3 separate regions of the Homo sapiens genome follow, and all the other regions are linked to region 1. The links are contacts of gene promoters, found by promoter capture Hi-C in blood cells and fetal thymus (Javierre and others, 2016). All regions are on one chromosome and are shown on one strand. The core of a region is centred on a gene start or on the middle of the fragment in contact, and the rest is flanking DNA. Distances in the headings are between cores, read along the strand shown. Region 1 holds the start of DDX60 (DExD/H-box helicase 60). Region 2 overlaps NEK1 (NIMA related kinase 1). Region 3 overlaps NEK1 (NIMA related kinase 1).

Region 1 (4,509 bases), core at 565-3,064:
ATCCCAGCTACTTGGGAGGCTGAGGTAGAAGAATCGCTTGAACCTGGGAGGCAGAGGTTGCAGTGAACTGAGATCAAGCCACTGCATTCCAGCCTGGGCAAAAGAGCAAGACTCCGTCTCAAAAAAAAAAAAAAAAAAAGAAGAAGAAGAAAAAAAAGAAAACCTGAATCTGATCAAAACGCTAGTAGTAATGATTAATTTACAAGAAATTTAGAGGCCAGCAAAATATGTTAAATGACACCACAGGGATTAGGACACATACACACACACACACATAAACACACACCCAACAGGACACACACATACAAAAACAAACAATCATAAGACCACAAATCTTACAAACGAATAAATTAAAAGGGGATGAAAGAAATTGCAAGAACCTTATAAGGCTTATCCTCCAATCACAGTAGTGTCAGAACCATATTCTGATTCAAACAATCTTAAAAAGGAAGAAGAAAAGAAGAAGGGAGGAAGAGAAATGGAAAAGAGAAAAAAGGAGGGAAGAGGAAAGGCGCAAAGGGGAGGTAAAGAGGAAAAAAATGGGGGCAAGGGAAGGGAAAGGAAATCATGGATTCTGTATTGGAACAGAATGGTGGAGCTACTTGATGAAAGGCATCAAGCTCCTGAAACCCTGCCTGGAGAAGAGCTGGTGGGTTAAAATGGCTTCCAGTACCCGGTATAACCCTCTCCCCTTGAGTGTGGACAGGACCTGTGAATTTAATGGCATAGTCTCTTTAATGATTCGGTTATATTATGTAAGACTTCATCATAGTAGACTCGGGAGATTCCCCCAAAGAGGCTTATACCTTCTTTAAAGGTACCCTATACCTTCTTTAACGGTATAAGCCACCTTGTTGTGAGAAGGCCACTGTAGCTAAGATCTCAGGGTGAAATCTAAAGACATGGGAACCCCCAGCCAACAGCCAGCAAGAAAGCAGGTAACCTCAGTCCTTTAGCTGCAAGAAACTGAATTCTTCCAACAACCTGAATGAGCATCCATGGTGTCCCATGAGGCCACAGCTCTGACACCTTGATTTCAGCTCGATGAGATGCTGAACAGAGAACTCACTTTACCCATGCCTGGGCTTCTGATCCACAGCAATTGTAAAATAATAAACTTGTAATGTTTTAAGCCACTATACCTGCCCCTTGACCAGGAATAAATTAAGTTACTGGAGTAGGAAATAAATTTCTATTGTCTTAAGCCACTGAAATTTAAGGGTGCACAGAAATTACCTGGGGGAATCTTATTAATAAACGCAGATTCTGATTCTACAAGTCTGGAGCAGGGATTGAAGGTGGAAGCTTCTTGCTGCTGTCAATGTACAGGTTTTACTGGCTGTGCTTAGATATGATGTCCCTTAATTTCTCCTCAACCTCCATTACCCAGCTCCCACCTTTGACGGGGACTCCTTAAATGCCTAACTAAGCACTCCTCTCTGTCTCAGACTTCAGGCCTTTCGCGGTTGTCCCTTTCCTCCGCCCCTCCCCACGCCCGGCCTTCCGGGCCAGCAGGGGGCCCGTGCGCCACGGCCTTGCGATCCCAGGAGGTTCCCCAGATTCCCGCGCCCCGAGCCCAGCACTCCTGGGCCACCTCCCTGTCCGGTCCGTTGAAGAAGACCTAGAACTCCCGCTAGACAGCTCCGCCCCAGGCTCTTCCCAAGGGACATCCCCGGCTCCTCACCGCGGACTCAGGACCGGTGGTGTCCAAAGACCCGCGAGCTGCGCGCCCCGCGGGGAGGGAGTGAAACAGAGACCTAGCGCAGAGCCCAGGTGGAAGTTCCAGGTTACCCCAGACCTGGCCTAGGACTCGGCGCTCTGAGCCACCGCAGCCAGTCTTTTATGCATCCGGCGGGAGTTTCGGTTTCCTTTCTCCTCTCAGAAGCACTTAGGTTTCAGTTTCCCTTCAGCACGAATTAGGCGAGGCACTTTCGTGGAAAGTTTAGCATCCTTCCCTTCAATCAGAATCTTAAGAAGGGGAGCATGGCGAGACGTTAGTTAAAAGGTATGAAGTTACAATAGCTAGGAAGAACCAGTTCTGGTATTCTATTCTGCAGTAGGGTGTGTATAGTTAACAATAATGCATATTTCAAAATAGCTAGAAGAGAGAATTTTGAATATTCTCATCACAAAGAAATAGTAAAGTTTTGAGGTAATAGATGGGCTAATTATCCTGATTTGATCATCACACAATGTATACATGTATTGAAACGTCACATTGTACCCCAAAAATATATACAATTATTATGCGTCAATTAAAAATAAAATGAAACTAAAAAAAACCTTAAAAGAGAGAGACAAAGGCAATAAAAATGGGCTTTGGAATTTGGGCATAAATATAGAGTAAATTGAGGCAGAAAAATTTGTAACATCTAAACAAGATAAAATCAAGAAGAGTTAGAATTTAGAAATTGATAAAATGTAAAAGACACTGTGGAATCTGAAACCCCACAATGAAATTGGAGATCTTGCTGCTTCTACTTGTATGCAAAAAGAAAAAAGAAAGTATGTAACAATACATGAACTTTGAGTTTCTGTTATGAGAAGCTGATGATTACTGTTCTGTATAAACTGTAATTGGTACTTTCATGGGCCAAGAATCAACATTAAAAAATAAATTGAAAATGCAGAATGGTCACATTTATTTGTGCCTCAAATTGATGAAATGTTCTCTTAATTTTTGCCTGTTGATACTTGCAGTGTGGGTTTCGATACTCATCTCCTTTCCTTTCAGTGCCCTCGTATGCTTGATTTCATTAATGCTATAAATATGCATTCATATATTGGAAATAGAAGAGGGTGTGGAGGAAAGACAGCAGTGAATTTGGGTAATCAGCATGATAAGAAGCCACAGGCTGCTTTGTCTACAAGGAAAGGAAAGAGCCAAGGTCCAGGCACTGCTCCACAGGGAACACAGAACAGAGAGAGTAGTGAATGATACTTTGTCTTGTGAAAAATTAGAGAGTCAAGTTGTTAAAAGAGGGGGATATGGGGAAGGAGGACATTTCTCACATCCATCAGACAATTACTTGTTTATTCATTTGTTTAGAAATTCACGTGTTTGTTAGTGATGAGATTAAGAAAGAAAATAAAAGACTCTAGAATTTAACACATGATTGGTCTTAAATCAGCCAATATTCCTGTCTCCTTCACTGTGATCTCTGATGTACCTGCCTGGGGTAGGCTGAATAATACCCTGCACTCCTCCCTCCAAAAGAGGCCAAAATCCTAATTCCTGGAACCTATGAATACAGTAACTTTCATAGCAAAAGTAACTTTGCAAAATAGATTAAATAAGAATCTTTAGAAGAGGAGATTACCCCTTACCCGGGATTATCCAGGTGGGCCCAAGGTCATCAGAAGGGCCTTTATAAGAGGGAGACAGGAGTTCGAGGGGCAATGTGATGATAGAAACAGTCAGTGACAGAATGTGGGGACACTACACAGATGGCGTTGAAGACAGTGGAAGGGACCACGGGCCAAGGAGTCTGGTGGTCTCTAGAAACTACCAAAGGCAAGGAAACATTTTTTTTTTCTAGAGCCTCCAGAAATCAGCCCTGATAACACCTTGACTTCAGCCCAGAGAGACTGATTTTGAACCTCTGAGCTCAGAACTGTAAGAGAACAAACTTGTGTGGTATTAAGCCACTAAATTTGTGGTAATTTGTTACAGCAGCCATAGAGAACTAATACAATATTGCAAACTGTATTGTAGGAAATGAATAACATATTTGCAAACAGCAGAAATAATGGATTGTGTTATAACAAGAGGTAGAATTAATTCAGACAGCTACTATGTGCTAAGCAATATGCTAATACCATATCAATGATCACAGCAAGTTCATGAGGTGTGTACTATGATTTCTGTCATTCTGTAGATAAGAAAAATAAAGCTTCGAGGGATAAAACAGCTAATAAATTATACTAAGATTCAAAATGTGGTCTAACCCAATGGCCTATCTACAACATTCTCTATTACATAATTTCATCAAATGCTTCAAATTCTACAACTGAAAGTGTTTCAGCTAGTGGACAAATGATTTTTTTTTGCTTAAATTATAAAGTTTTTTAGAATATATGATGTTCTACAGTTGTTTCGACTTTCAGTGACCGGATTTATCAGGTGAGAGTTCAAGACAACTTTGACTCATCCTCTTCAATTTTCCACCCCAAAGTATGTAAACACACAGAAACTTTTTATTTTTTTTTTACTTTTTCACTTCAACAGCCTACTCCCATGACCACACCCTGGACTTTGTTCTGAAGCTTGATAGTCACGTACTTTATTTTTCCTTTTAGACCCCTCCCTTTATGCCCTACACTTTAACCTCTGAGGACTCCCAAATGTTTGTCCTATCAGGGTGAACTCCATGAGCCAACACTTCAACTCTCCTCTTAATTAACATGTTCAACTGCTTGAACCTACTGACTTTCCTCTACACTTGCCTATAATTTGTTAATCCTGATTAATTCAAGTTTTCTTTTCTTTTTGATACCTGGCCACCAAGG
Region 2 (4,643 bases), core at 931-3,430, 1.2 Mb after region 1:
TTCCTTAAACCTTATGAACCAATCTCTGCTAGCCAACAATTTTTCTTCTGTAGCTTCCTTATCTCTCCTAGTCTTCACGGAATTGAGGAGAGTTAGGGCCTTGCTCTGGATTAGGCTTTGGCCAAAGAGAATGTTGCGGCTGGTTTGATCTTCTATCTAGACCACTAAAGCTTTCTCCATATCAGCAAGAAGGCTGTTTTGCTTTCTTTCTTTCTTTTTTTTCTAAGAGATGGGGTCTTGCTCTGTCACCCAGGCTGGAGTGCAGATCCAGGCACAATAATAGCTCACTGCAACCTTGAAATCCTAGGCTCAAATGATCATTCTGCCTTAGCTTCTCAATGTGGTTGGGACTATAGGTGTGTGCCACCACATCCAGCTAATTTTTCTTTCTTTCTTTCTTTCTTTTTTTTTTTTTAGAGACAGGTTCTCACTATGTCATCCATGCTAGTCTCAAACTTCTGGCCTCAAGCAATTCTCGTGCCTCAGTCTCCCGAGTTGCTGAGACTACAGGCACCTGGCTGTTTCGCTTTCTTATCATGTGTGTTCACTGGAGTAGAACTTTTTTTTTTTCTGAGATGGAGTCTTGTACTGTCGCCCAGGCTGGAGTGCAATGGGGTGCAATGGCTCAGTGAAACCTCCGCCTCCCTCCTGGATTTACATGATTCTCCTGCCTCAGCCTCCTGAGTAGCTGGGATTACAGGCACACACCACCACGCTCAGCTAATTTTTTGTATTTTTAGTAGAGATGGGGTTCACTATGTTAGCCAGGCTGGTCTCAAACTCCTGATCTCATGATCCACCTGCCTCGGCCTCCCAACATGCTGGGATTACAGGCGTGAGCCACTGCACCTGGTCTGGGGTAGCACTTTTAATTTCCTTCAGGAACTTTTCCTTTGCATTCACAACTTGGATAACTGGCGCAAGAGGCTTAATTCTGTGCCTATCTCAGCTTTCAATATGCCTTCATCACCAAGCTTAATCTTGATTTCAGGTGACAGACATGCAACTCTTTTACTTGAATACTTAAGAGGCCACTGTAAGTCATTAAGTGGCCTAATTTCAATATTATTTTGTCTTAGGGAATAAGATCTGAGGAGTGAGACAGGGGAACTACCAGTCAGTGGAGCAATTAGAACACACACATTCATCAATTAAATTTCCCATCTTATATGGGTGAAGTCTGTGGTGCCTCAGAACAATTACAACAGTAATATCAAAGATATAATGACAATAATGAAAAAGTTTGAAATATGGCAAGAATTACAAAAATGTGACACAAAGACACAAAATGAGCAAAAGCTGTTGGGAAAATGACACTGATAGACTTGCTTGATGCAGGGTTGCCACAAACCTTCAATTTGTAAAAAATGCAGTATTTATGAAGCACAATAAAACAAAGTATGCCTGTATTTATTTTGTTCAAAAAAGGATGGAAACATTGCTTTAGTCCCATAGTTCAGTATTATTGAAAAAGTATACTGATATTTAAGATGTTACTACAAATAGGCCGGGCGCAGTGGCTCACACCTGTAATCCCAGCACTTTGGGAGGCCAAGGCGGGTGGATCACAAGGTCATGAGTTTGAGACCAGTCTGGCCATCATGGTGAAACCCTCTCTCTACTAAAAATACAAAAAATTGGCCGGGCATGGTGGTGTACACCTGTAGTCCCAAGTACTCGGGAGGCTGAGGCAGGAGAATCACTTGAACCCGTGAGGCAGAGGTTGCAGTGAGCCGAGACTGTGCCACTGCACTCCAGCCTGGGCGACAGAGTGAGACTCTGTCTCAAAAAAAAAAAAAAAAAAAGTTACTACAAATAACTTTTAAAAATATCTAGAGCTCACCTAACAGTATTATCACCTTGAAAGATTATATCTAAATATTTTGAAACTTTGTTTGTTTTAATTACTATAGTATATAAATTCAAATAAGGTTTCATACACTGAGAGAATAAAAACAAGCTCCAAAGTTGTTCTGAATAGTAGCAGTATTTTTAGAACAAATATGTTATTTCTCTAGATGATTACTTAAAAGAAATATACTTTGAATGAACACATTCTGCTATTTTTATTTAAATCAGTAATCACTTCTCTACCACATACTAGGATTACAGTTATGTGCCACCATGCCCAGCACATTTTTGTATTTTTAGTAGAAATGGGATTTCACATGTTGGCCAGGCTGGTCTCGAACTCCTGACCCCGTGATCTGCCTGCCTTGGCCTCCCAGAGTGCTGGGATTACAGGCGTGAGCCACCGCGTTTGGCCTGCTATTTCGATACATCAATCTGACACGATTTCTGTGAGAAGACAAATCCACAATATTTGACAAAAATTATCAATAAATTAAAATACATATTAATACCTATTAAGGCCAAGCACAGTTCTAGATAATGATATCCAAAATGAATTAGACACAATATTTTCTCTGAGGGGACTGTAAATTAGAAAAGAAAAAAGAACACATAAATCAATCAGTATGTTACAGAGAAAAAAATAAAGAGATAAGTACTAAACGATCTGGGGAAGAATGAAACAAAAAATATAGAAAGAACTAACTCTGTAAAGCCAAGAGGGGCACCAGTGAGAACAGCCTTCGCAGAGCAGCCAATGGTCAGCCATTCATTGTTCGGGAAGGCCATAAAACACAGATAAAGTAGGACAGTTGTACATTCAAATCCCAAAACACTCACCAGTCCTGTGATTTTTCATTGTTTTTATCCTCTCTGAACCTCACAGTTTTTCTCTAAAATAGAAATGCTGTACTCTTTGCCTCTCTGCTATAGGGATTGCATGAGATAATTTACGTAAAGTACACATCTGTGTACCTAATAAATAGTAGCAATTGTTATTTATTTGGTTTCCATTAAATAAGGTTATTTGGCTTAAACACTACAAGTCTGGTTTTAGTTCCTGATGAAATGTATTAAGTTTCAGAATGCAAGTTTCTCATCTTTAGAATGCAGACTAAAAACAAAAACCTCCTATCTTAACCATGATCAGAAATTAAAATTTGAGCATTGTGAGAGACAAATTTATTGGCACTTTTATAATAATGATCTTCAGCAGCCTTCAGTAAATGCTTATGTTCTATAATCAAATGCATACTGATCTCTCCTCTGAGTCAACTAAACCAAACAGATTAGAAGAACCTAAACAGACAAATTCAGACATGGAATCTAAATAAATGAACAAAGACAGATTACTAACTCTTACAATAACTTAAGAAGACAACTAAGTTACTGAAAATTTATGGGTGGTTCAGGATGACTACTGAAATGTGGCAACATCATTATAAGCTAATGTCATACACTTAAGTAACTTATTAGTACAGTTGAATTGGGCCTTCTGTATAAATATCATGGTGTATTATTTATAATCAGAACCTTAAAGCTTTTCAATATTAACTACATCTTGAGATAAAAGATGATAATGTACTTCTAATTATTGAAAGATAAACCATTACACTAAGCCTTTTATACGGAAAGTTGAGCAAATATGACATATCACAAAAATTAACTAAGCCAGGAAAACAATATAAAGTTTCATATAAGAGAAAAATATAAAAATTTGGAACAAAGAATGACCCAATTTTATTATACAATTGATCACCCAGCTAAATCTATAATATATATTTCATTCTAAACATACTTTTTCACTGGGTGCAATGGCTCACACCTATAATCCCAGCACTCAGGAGGCTGAGGCAGGAGGAGCACTTGAGCCCAGGAGTTTGAGACCCAGTTAATTTTCTTTTTTCTTGTAGAAATGGAGTCTCACCAGACCAGTGAGACTCCATTTGTACAACAAATAAGAACATTAGCTTATGTATGGTGACGTGTGCTAAGGGTCCCAGCTATAGACAGGCTGAGGCAGGAGGATCCCTTGAGCCCAGCAGGTCGAAATTGCAGAGAGCCATGTTCACACCACGGCACTCCAGCCTGAGTGACAGAGCAAGACCCTGTTTCAAAACAAAACAAAACAAACAAAGCACAGTCTTTCAAAGTTTAACCACAGTTTTAAATATAAAAATGTGCAAAAAAAAAGATAAAACATTGACCTGAAAGTTTCATAATTCAGTTTTAAAAGAAATGCTTTAGAAGCTTTTTTTTTCTTAGCCATTTTTCTCACAAGGTTCATAAATTTAAGGCTTTTCAACATTGCTTTTATTGTCACAAAAGGTTTTCAATTATCGCTGTAAAACTGTTTCTACTTCACGTGTCAATTTTGCCATGTGCTGAAAAATTAAGCAGCAGTGCCACCAAATGACGAAACTCAAAATTTCACCAAATAGTGAGGCGAGGCTTACAAACACATGAAACCACCAGTCTGCCTACTCTTGATGTCTGCCTACTCTTGATCAATAACAAACATATTTTCATCTTTATGCTGACTTATTAGTAAGGATTTAATGTATGCTAGGAAAGTATTAAATGACTTAGTTTCATATTTTGAATAGAGTAATTTCACACAGTTTTATACAGCCTAAAGATATATCATGGCCAAATCTTATCAAATTCATATTTAATGTCTCAAAACCTTATCTTTGAAGAACCAATAGTATAAAAGTATTTGTATTTGAATAAATTTTCTTAACTAGTATTGCCATAATGCTTTTATAAGAATATCTAAGAATAAGAACAAG
Region 3 (4,746 bases), core at 2,000-4,499, 1.3 Mb after region 1:
GGAAGTGAGGAGCGCCTCTTCCCGGCCGCCATCCCATCTAGGAAGTGAGGAGCGTCTCTGCCTGGCCGCCCATCGTCTGAGATGTGGGGAGCGCCTCTGCCCCGCCGCCCCGTCTGGGATGTGAGGAGCGCCTCTGCCCGGCTGCGACCCCGTCTGGGAGGTGAGGAGCGTCTCTGCCTGGCCGCCCCGTCTGAGAAGTGAGGAGACCCTCTGCCTGGCAACCGCCCCATCTGAGAAGTGAGGAGCCCCTCCGCCCAGCAGCCACCCCGTCTGGGAAGTGAGGAGCGTCTCCGCCCGGCAGCCACCCCGTCCGGGAGGGAGGTGGGGGTCAGCCCCCGCCAGGCCAGCTGCCCAGTCCGAGAGGGAGGTTGGGGGGTCAGCCCCCCACCAGGCCAGCCGCCCAGTCTGGGAGGGAGGTGGGGGGATCAGCCCCCCGCCCGGCCAGCCGCCCCGTCCGGAAGGGAGGTGGGGGGGTCAGCCCCCCGCCCGGCCAGCATACCCGTCCGGGAGGGAGGTGGGGGGGTCAGCCCCCCGCCCGGCCAGCCGCCCCGTCCAGGAGGTGAGGGGTGCCTCTGCCCGGCCGCCCCTGCTAGGAAGTGAGGAGCCCCTCTGCCCGGCCACCACCCCATCTGGGAGGTGTGCCCAGCGGCTCATTGAGAACCAGCTATGATGACAGTGGCGGTTTTGTGGAATAGAAAGGGGGGAAAGGTGGGGAAAAGATTGAGAAATCGGATGGTTGCCGTGTCTGTGTAGAAAGAAGTAGACATGGGAGACTTTTCATTTTGTTCTGTACTAAGAACAAATTCTTCTGCCTTGGGATCCTGTTGATCTGTGACCTTACCCCCAACCCAGTGCTCTCTGAAACATGTGCTGTGTCCACTCAGGGTTAAATGGATTAAGGGCGGTGCAAGATGTGCTTTGTTAAACAGATGCTTGAAGGCAGCATGCTCATTAAGAGTCATCACCACTCCCTAATCTCAAGTACCCAGGGACACAAACACTGCGGAAGGCTGCAGGGTCCTCTGCCTAGGAAAACCAGAGACCTTTGTTCACTTGTTTATCTGCTGACCTTCCCTCCACTATTGTCCTATGACCCTGCCAAATCCCCCTCTGCGAGAAACACCCAAGAATGATCAATAAAAAAATAAATAAATAAATAAATAAATAAATAAATAAATAAATAAAAAGAATAAAAGCTTAGCCTGGTTGCGGTGGCTCATACCTGTAATCCCAGAACTTTGGGAGGCCAAGGTAGGTGGATTACTTGAGGCCAGGAACTATTTGCCAGGAACTAGTGAACAACAACAAAAATCCCTACCCTCATGAATTTCTGCACTGTAGTGGAGGAAACTGGTAATAAACTAATTGAAAATAGATTAGAAAGTGATAACATTGTGGAGAAAAACAAAGCAGAGTAAAGTAGAGTAGAAACGTGGGAATGGCGTAGAGGGATGGTTATTACTTGATATAGTGTGATCAAGAAAGGCTCTATTCATAAAGCAAGTTTTGAGCACAGACCTCAAAGAAAAGACAGCAGCAAGTACAAACTTGTTTTTGCAGGTAAGTACTTGGCATGTTTAAGGACAACAGGTTTGGCAAGGCTGTACCGGGACTAGCAAGGGAAGAGTAGCAAATGAGACTTGGAAAGGTAATGAGGCTGTCGGGGGCTTTGTAGACAGTTGTAAAGACTCTGGCTTGCTTTTTTTTCTTGAAACCAAGTCTCACTCTGTCTCCAGGCTGGAGGGCAGTGGCATGATCTCAGCTCACTGTAACCTCTGCCTCTCAGGTTCAAGCAATTCTCCTACCTCAGCCTCCTGAGTAGCTGGGATTATAGGCACACACCACCATGCCCAGCTAATTTTTTTTTTTTTTTTGTATTTTTAGTAGAGAAGGTGTTTCACCATGTTGGCCATGATGGTCTCAATCTCTTGACATCGTGAGATCAAGGTCACAAGGCCCACCTCCCAAAGTGCTGGGATTACAGGCAGGAGCCACCGGGCCCGGCCGACCCTGGCTTTTACTGAGTGGGATGAAAAGACACTGAAAAGTTTCAAGCAGGAGAGTGTAACGATCTGACTTCCATCATAAAAGGAACATTTGGGCTGCTCACATGAGAACAGACTAAGAGGGTAAGTCTGAAAGCAGTTAGACTAATCATGAGATTATTATAACCCTGGTGGAAAGTGAGGGTGGCTAGGACTAATATGGTGGTAAAAATAATGAGAAGTAGTCAGACCGTGAATATATTTTGAAGTCACAATTGACAGGATATGACGTAGAAAGAGTAGTCAATAATGACTCCAATATGGAAGATGAGAACAAATGGAAGGGCAGAGTTCCCATTTACTGAAATAAGTAAGATCAATTTGGAGAGAGAATGAAATCAAGAGTTCATTTTTATATATGGTAATTTTGAGATGTCTATTAGAAACACAGCTGGAGATGTTAAGACAGGTATCAGTCTCCAGTTCAGGAAAGGAGTCCAAGGTGGAGATACAAATTTGAGAGTCAGCTTATAGATGTTATCCATTAGAAAGTTCGTATGGATACAAAAAAGAAGATATCTGAGGCCTGAGACCTTGAGCACCTCAGCATTTAAAAGCCCTGGAGGTGAGGAGGAACTTGCAAAGGAGGCTGAGAAGCAGCAGTCAATGAGGTAGGAAGAAAACCAGAAGAATGTAATACCAGGGACTCAAATGAAGAAAATATTTCAAGAAGGAGGGGGCAATCAAGTGAGTCAAAAACTGAGGTCAAGGAAGAAGAAAAATGACCCATGGATTTAATAATATAGACATCAGGAGCCATTTCACAACAGCTGTTTCATAACAGCTGTGACAAAGAAAGCCATGAGTGAAGTGGGTTCAAAATGAAATGAACTGGAGACAGTATAGACAATCTTTTGGGAAAGTTTTGTTGTTAAAGGGACCAGAAATATAGAGAGGTAGTTGGAAGGACATAAGGGAAAGTTCCTTTTTAAAAAGACTTAAGATATAGGATATTTGTTTGCTAACATGAATGATTCAGTAGAGAGAAAAAACTATAATGATGCAGGAGAGAGCGCAAAGTCCTTTAGCAGGCAAAAAAGAATCACAGTATGCAAATGATTGAGTTGATCCTAACTGGGAACAGAAACAGGTCATCCAAAGTAAAACGAAGAAAGGTAAAATATTTGCCAACAGGTAAGACTGACTAGCAGAAGTAATTGTGGGAAAGTTTTCTTCCAATTGCTTCTATTTTCTCAGTGAAGTAGGAAGAAAATATTGGTCCTTGTGAAAAGCAAAGAGAAGGTAAAAAATAATCACCTAGGAAGTAGAAGAGTAAATACACTGAGGAAATATAATAGGGTGACCAGAAGGTGCTAATTTGATATTGTTGGTTACATATTGAAAGTTAGACTAGTTACAATAGTCATATGCTTTCTCCAGCCATATTCCACTGACCAGCTTCAGGCACAAATGAAGTGGAGAGTTGGATTTCACAAAGTTAAGTTTTTTGGTTATTGGTAATAATGGAAGAGAGGGCAAGAGAGCTGACCATTTGGAAATTATTATAAATGAATATGGAATTTAAGCCAGGTAAGGAAAATAGAAACAAAGAGGGGGAATAAAGGAAGTTATTAGGATTCATGGATCCAAATGGGACAGATGTTTTGGAGGCAGACTCCTAAAGAAGTAAGCTAGAAACACAGGAAGTGGTGATCAGGGAACGGGATGATTATAAATGAGGCTAAGAAAGAGTTGTTATTATTGATAATAAAAATTTTAATGGCATGGCCATAGGTGAGAGTTTCAAGTTAAAGTGGGAGACAAGATATTTGAAAGAGAATGATCAAGAAAATAAGCCAGGCACGGTGGCTCATGCCTGTAATCCCAGCACTTTTTGGGCAGCCAAGGCAAGAGCATTGCTTGAGCCCAGGAGTTTGAGACAAGCCTGGGTAACATAGTGCAACCCCACCACTACAAAAAATAAAAAATTAGCTGGGTGTAGTGGCACTTGCCTGTGGTTCAGCTACTCAGGAAGTTGAGGAGGTGGATTGCTTGAGCTCAGGAAGTTAAGGCAGCAGTGAGCCATGACCGCACTACTGTCCTCTAGCCTGGGCAACAGAGCAAGACTCTTTCTCAAAAAGAAAAGAAAAGAGAAAGAAAGAAAATGAAAACAAAAGGCCATGTTCTATAGGAAGTATCATCTTTTTTTATACTAAAACTGTAAAGAATTATGACAATATTGGAAGGAGTGACAGTGAGTCAGGTGTTAAACTCTTCAAAAGACAAGGGTTGGCGGGGCGTGGTGGCTCATGCCCGTAATCCCAGCGCTTTGGGAGGCCAAGGCGGGCGGATCATGGGGTCAGGAGATCGAGACCATCCTGGCTAACATGGTGAAACCCCGTCTCTAATAAAAATACAAAAACAAAATTAGCTGGGTGTGGTGGCGGGCGCCTGTAGTCCCACAGTCCCAGCTACTCAGGAGGCTGAGGCGGGAGAATGGCGTGAACCCGCGAGGCGGAGCTTGCAATGAGCTGAGATTGTGCCACTGCACTCCAGCCTGGGCGACAGAGGGAGACTCCACCTCAAAAGAAAAAAAAAAAAAAAAAAGACAAGTGTCTACAGATGATCCTAACACAGAAGAGCAGTAGGTGATACAGTCTGGTAGCAAAAGCATCAAGGTAGAGAGATGAGGAGAATGGCAGGATCAGGCAGCAGGGAGAGTCTGGCAATGAGAAGCAAGGGAAACATTTCCTTCATCCTA

What was found. The method cuts DNA at HindIII sites, captures the fragments that hold promoters and counts their contacts. A CHiCAGO score of 5 or more calls a contact.
Region 2: a fragment that was not itself captured here is called in contact with the fragment with the promoter of DDX60 in region 1 in 2 of 17 cell types (naive CD8 T cells and naive B cells); the score reaches 5.2 in naive CD8 T cells.
Region 3: a contact is called between a fragment that was not itself captured here and the fragment with the promoter of DDX60 in region 1, in 7 of 17 cell types (total B cells, activated CD4 T cells, naive CD8 T cells and 4 more). The highest score is 11.7, in total B cells.

Annotation. Positions count from the first base shown.
Region 1 is chr4:168,316,938-168,321,446 of GRCh38, forward strand. DDX60 (DExD/H-box helicase 60) reads right to left here and starts at 1,815. Exons shown (of 38, transcript NM_017631.6): 1 at 1,685-1,815. RefSeq lists an enhancer at 1,749-2,078. The HindIII fragment of the contact is 2,588 bases long and covers 1,304-3,891 here.
Region 2 is chr4:169,482,080-169,486,722 of GRCh38, forward strand. All of the region lies in intron 23 of NEK1 (NIMA related kinase 1), which reads right to left. Among named protein-coding and RNA genes, the nearest start is that of NEK1, 130 kb to the right of the region's middle. The HindIII fragment of the contact is 2,417 bases long and covers 973-3,389 here.
Region 3 is chr4:169,570,038-169,574,783 of GRCh38, forward strand. All of the region lies in intron 12 of NEK1 (NIMA related kinase 1), which reads right to left. Among named protein-coding and RNA genes, the nearest start is that of NEK1, 40 kb to the right of the region's middle. The HindIII fragment of the contact is 4,110 bases long and covers 1,195-4,746 here.